Regions from separate parts of the Homo sapiens genome. Here region 1 is linked to region 2. The links are contacts of gene promoters, found by promoter capture Hi-C in blood cells and fetal thymus (Javierre and others, 2016). All regions are on one chromosome and are shown on one strand. Each heading gives the region's core, a stretch centred on a gene start or on the middle of the fragment in contact. The rest is flanking DNA. Distances are from core to core; before and after follow the strand shown.

Region 1 (2,786 bases), core at 264-2,763, 560 kb after region 2:
CCCAGCTACTTGGGAGGCTGAGGCAGGAGAATTGCTTGAATCTGGGAGGTAGAGGTTGCAGTGAGCCAAGATCACACCATTGCATGCCAGCCTGGGTGACAAGTGTAAAACTCCATCTCAAAATAAATAAATAAATACGTAAATAAATAAATTAATTAACCCTTTGCTTTTTGCCAACTTGGTGAACTCCTGAATGTGTCCCCTTTGCTATGCCTCCCTGGGATGCCCTTCCTTTCTCTTCTTTACTGGCCCTTCATGGCCCATTTCCAGGCCCTTCCCCTGAGTCCTGCAGGTGAAACTTCAGCTCCCTGCTGCATCCAGCCCCCTTCCCCATTTCTATAAAGTTATAGAACTTGGCTGGGCGCGGTGGCTCACGCCTGTAATCCCAGCACTTTGGGAGGCCGAGGTGGGCGGGTCACAAAGTCAGGAGTTCGAGACCAGCCTAGTCAATATAAACCCCATCTCTACTAAAAATACAAAAATTAGCAGGGCATGGTGGCAGACGCCTGTAGTCCCACCTACTTGGGAGGCTGAGACCACAAAATCGCTTGAATCTGGGAGGCGGAGGTTGCAGTGAGCCGAGATGGTGCCACTGCACTCCAGCCTCTGTGACAGAGGAGACTCCGTCTCAAAAAAACACAAAAAAACAGAAGAAGAAGAAAAAAAAAGAACTTGACAGCCAGAAAGATCCTCAAAGGCAACCTAGTACTTCAACGCATGGAGAAAAATGAGGAAGTAGTTGCATGCCCAAGATCACACAGACCTCAGAGGTTCAGCCAGCATCAGATCCTAGATTTGCACTCCTGCCACAATGCCAAACTGCCTGTGAAGTTCTGGATTTTCTAAAACAGGCAGTGTCAGGGAAAAGTCCCTCATACCTTGCTGTCACCCTGGACACGTTCTAGATACCCAACACTCTCCCACCTTTTTGCTGAACTCCTACTCATCTATCATGGCTCAGCTTAAACAAACGCCCTTTCACCCAAGACCCATTCTAAACCCTGAACATCCCCAAGATGGGAGTAAGCGATTCTCTGTGTTCTCACAGTTTCTTTGTATGTCCCTTATCAGGATATTATAAACCACAATTTAATCAGAATATTATAACCTTTTGCAATGAACAGTGAACATCATTCAGGTGGGCCTTTTTCTTCTTTAATTGAGCTTCTCTACCAATACATACAGGTGGGTCTTAAAGACAACCGTGCCTCCTGCCTCCAGCACAATAAAACTAATTGAATGGTGGGAGGGTGTTACTGCTCTTCATTCACTGAAATGAGTCATTCTCACTCTTACCCTGACACCACTCACCATCAGCAATGAAAGAGCCACTACTTCTAAGCTTCATCAGAGTTGGAGGTGGAGGTGACTCCACAGTCAGAGGTGGAGGTGTCAATTTCTATTTAGGAGAGAAGGCTGCAGATGGCAGAGGTTGTGGTAGGAGGGAAAGTCAGGAAACCTGCAGCAGAAGTGCCCGGGATGGAGGAATGAAGGCCCAGGTTCTAGGTCCCTTCTGGGCAGGTCTTGTGTTGGGCAGTGGAGACACGGAAAACAGTCAGACAGACACCACAAACCTCTGAGAGAGTCTGCCTGTAACCCAGACGAAGTCCTGATTCAGAGCCCAAACTTCCCCTTTTGAAAACAAAGATGACACCTGCTTTCCTTATTAAAGGGAGGGCAGCCATAAGCTTTGAGAAAACCTGCACAGGCCAAATATCAATTACTGTATCGTGCGTGACTCGCTGTTCCCTCTCGGGTCGTCTGCCCTTGTCTGGGCTTCACTTTCTCATCTGTAAAAAGACCTGACTGGCCTGCATAACCTCATGAGCCTGAACCCTGCCTCAGTTACTTCGCTTTGCACAGCCGAAGCCCGAAGCCCACCTTACCCCAGCTCGGCCCCAACCCAAAAGAACATGTCATGGTCTTACCTGTCGGCGGGGCGTAAGCCCGGGCTGGAGACGGGATGGTTGGCCCCGGACTCATAGAAGCGCTGGGGCCACCCGCCGGCCGATTCAGGAGACGGCGTCCCCCGTCCCGCAGCCGGAGGCAGCTCCTCCACATCGCGCCCGAGGGTCTGGGAAGATGCGAGACGCGAAACCTGGAGCAGGAAACACAGAGCGATGGGATCCCCAAAGCCGCACGGTCGGGCTGTACGGAAACCTCTCAACGCCTCCTCAGAGCCCTCAACCTCCCTTGGACGCCGCCATCTTCCGCATGACACCTACGGCGCGCCGTCGCCGCCGCGCGCCTCCTGCGCACACCCCCAGTCAATCAGCATCACAAACGCACCTCGCCCCGCCCCCTCCACGCCGCGCCTCGGCGAGGAGACTACAAGTCCCAGCGGGCCGCTCGCGCACCGCGCCACGTGTTTTCTCCTCCCGCCAATGGGCGGAAGCGCCGCCTGAGCCTGCTCCCGCCCCCCAGGCTCGCCTGAGCCAATCGGAAGGGGCGGGGTGTGTGTGTGTCTGTGTGTGTTTGTGTGTTGTGTGTCTGTGAGTGTCTGTGTGTGTGTATGTGTGCGCGAGGGCAAGTCGGGAGGGGGACCCAGCTCAGGACTGGGAGGCCCTGCTCGCAGGTCCCTGGGTCCCGGTGGCGGCCGGAGCGCTTGCTCCGCAGGCAGCGGGCGGGTGGTCGCCCCTCCCGCCCCCACCCCGCGCGTGCGCGCCCCGGCCTCTCCCTCCCCGCCACCCTCCTCGGCTCCCGCGCGGCGGCGGCGGTTCCTCTCCCACTCCCCCCAGCCCTGGCTCCGGGGGACCCCGCGATGCCGGTCCGCACCGAGTGTCCCC
Region 2 (2,826 bases), core at 11-2,510:
CCCCACTCATGTCTTCTACTCACTAGCTAAGCTTGGGGTGGGTGTCCCCATTGCCCGGAAAATTACTACACAGCCCTCATATCAAACTTGTTTTGAGAAGCATAACCATAAACCCATCTTTGGCCTATGATCCTAGGGAGTCCTCATGCCAACAAGACCTTTTGGGGTCAGCCACGCATGTGAAGTTAGAATGCAGTTTAGGCTGTGCCATGAATCTGAACTAAATATGATTTTAGGGGTGAGGAAACTGGGACCTAGGGGCTTGGGGAACTGGCCCGAAGGTATGGAGAGTACCTGACCTTGTCGTTCTTCCAGGATATGATATTTACTCCTGGCACCAATCCCCTCTACCTTGTACTGAAAGCAAGGACAGCCTGCCTGCAACCACACATACAGGTGGCCATCCAGCAGGTGCATACTAAATGTGTGTTGAGTTGAATTATTAGACTCTTTCTAAGCAACCTTGCAGCATTGAAGGGACCGCAATCCCTTTGCCTCTGCGTCCTTAGGGCTAAACTCGAGGTCTCGATGTCTTGCACTGTGGGCTGGGCCGGGTTTGGTGCCTCACCCAGCAGGTAAGTGCTGTCTACGCCTCCCACAGGTCCAGTGGCTCCTCTCCAGACTTGGGTGCACTGGGCCAGGCTGCACCTTACTAATCTCAAGGCTTCCTGTGTTTGTGGCTTTGGGGCCCTCTTCATCGTGTGAATAGGAATAAGAAGATTGTTATTTCTGGCCGGGTGCAGTGGCTCACGCCTGTAATCCCAGCACTTTGGGAGGCCGAGACGGGCGGATCACCTGAGGTGGGGAGTTCGAGACCAGCCTGATCAACATGGAGAAACCCCGTCTCTACTAAAAATATAAAATTAGCCGGGCGTGGTGGTGCATGCCTGTAATCCCAGCTACTAGGGAGGCTGAGGCAGGAGAATCGCTTGAACCCGGGAGGCGGAGGTTGCGGTGAGCCGAGATCGCGCCACTGCACTCCAGCCTGGGCAACAAGAGCGAAATTCCGTCTCAAAAAAAAAAAAAAGATTGTTATTTCTGAAATAAACCCCTATTTCTCACTATTTAATAATTTAGCAATCTTGACTCACAATCCAAATCCAGGCACCCCAGACCCACCCACGGCCCGTTGCCTAGCAACAGCCTCCCCACCCCCGCCTCCGCGCCTTTTCCCGCCGACTGCCCAGTGCGCACGCTCAGAGCCTTCCTCCACACCCCGCCCCTGCAGGGCGCGCGGTGGTGACGTGTAGAGTGCGCGACGCTTTTGGCGACCCGACCTCTGGCTAACCTACCCCCGGAGCCATGGCCTCTGCTGGGGTGGCAGCCGGGCGACAGGCGGAGGATGTATTGCCGCCAACGTCCGACCAGCCGCTGCCTGACACCAAGCCGCTGCCGCCTCCTCAGCCGCCGCCGGTCCCTGCGCCTCAACCGCAGCAGTCGCCGGCGCCACGGCCTCAGTCACCTGCCCGCGCGAGGGAGGAAGAGAACTACTCCTTTTTACCTTTGGTTCACAACATCATCAAATGGTAAGAACCTAGGAGAGGACCAGGCCCCATACTCCCTCCAGCTTCTCCTCTCAGCCGTTTCAGAGCTGCAAGAGGCCTTGGCGCTCTGGGGCACGCCCCCGTTTCACAGATGGGGAAACTCAGACCCAGAGCGGGAAGAGGCCTTTCCCAAGACCACAGAGACATTCCATGAGTTAAGCAAACGATTTGAGCCTCGAGAGGTGCGATATCCTTAAGAATGAAGCCAGCTTAGAGACTAAATGCAGACTCTTGTCCAGCGGCTCAAATGTTCATCCCAGCGATCTTGAGCAAATTAAATCTCTTTAAGCCTCAGTTTTCTCACCTTTAATGTTGGTAATACTCACTTTAGTTCCTTAGTTCAGCAAACTCAACAGATAAGCATCATCTTCCCTGTGCCAAGTGCTACGGGATGGACGCAGTAAAAGGGGCCAACTTTTCACCCCCAAAGGTTTAGATAGAAGGAAAAAAAGACATGATTGGGAATAACCCACAATTCAAAAAGATTGAGACGGGAGTGGTGGCGATGGGAAACATTAGACTAAGCAGAAACACAGAAGTTGCCTCAGATGATTAGACCCACTTGTACTGACTTTGTTCTAACAGTACCAAAGGAAATAATTGTTGTCATCCTTTTGGCCAGCCTTCAGGGTAGCCTGAGTTTTCAAAGTGACTCTGTAGAGGAAAAACCAAAAACAAAAACACAAAAGTCTCACTGATCCTTATGTTTGCCTAAATTATTATTTTTTTTGAGAGAGGGTCTCGCTCTGTCACCCAGACTGGAGTACAGTGGCGTGATCTCGGCTCACTGCAGCCTCAACCTCCTGGCCTCAAGCCATCCTCCCACCTCATCCTCCCAAGTAACCGGAACCACAGGCATGAGCCATGGCACCCAGCGAATTTTTGTATTTTTTGTAGAGATGGAGTTTCACCATGTTGCCCAGGCTGTAAATTATTTTCATTATGTTACTTCACTGTATATCCACGTGATACTAGGTGTAAACCCCTAGGCTTGTAACTCTTACTCAACCATTAAAGACCAAAACAAAGTAAATTAAAAGAAAATTACGATTCCAGTAACATTCAGGTGAACATGAATGTGCTCTTCACTGTTTTACTGAAATGGAATTGTTACAACGTGAAGGTCTTGACTGTTAGTGGCCCACCCACTTTTGAGTTTAAGCAAATTAGATTCACTTGCTGTGGGATGACCTGATGCTCTTCTGCCACTTTTCAAATAACTACAAAGGCTTTGTTCTCACATTAGACCCTGGCTTCATTTGGTTTCACTTGGTGTTTAAAT

What was found. Contacts are between HindIII fragments. The CHiCAGO score rates a contact against its expected background, and 5 or more counts as called.
Region 1: a contact is called between a fragment that was not itself captured here and the fragment with the promoter of MED9 in region 2, in 5 of 17 cell types (total CD8 T cells, fetal thymus, total B cells and 2 more). The highest score is 7.6, in total CD8 T cells.

Annotation. Positions count from the first base shown.
Region 1 is chr17:18,036,953-18,039,738 of GRCh38, forward strand. ATPAF2 (ATP synthase mitochondrial F1 complex assembly factor 2) reads right to left here and starts at 2,216. Exons shown (of 8, transcript NM_145691.4): 1 at 1,929-2,216. The coding sequence starts at 2,061. It overlaps GID4 (GID complex subunit 4 homolog), which reads left to right and starts at 2,456. Exons shown (of 6, transcript NM_024052.5): 1 at 2,456-2,786. The coding sequence starts at 2,513. RefSeq lists enhancers at 1,875-1,944, 1,955-2,004, 2,145-2,254 and silencers at 2,365-2,454, 2,465-2,786. The HindIII fragment of the contact is 346 bases long and covers 1,341-1,686 here.
Region 2 is chr17:17,475,740-17,478,565 of GRCh38, forward strand. MED9 (mediator complex subunit 9) reads left to right here and starts at 1,261. Exons shown (of 2, transcript NM_018019.3): 1 at 1,261-1,526. The coding sequence starts at 1,303. RefSeq lists an enhancer at 1,265-1,364. The HindIII fragment of the contact is 9,122 bases long and covers 30-2,826 here.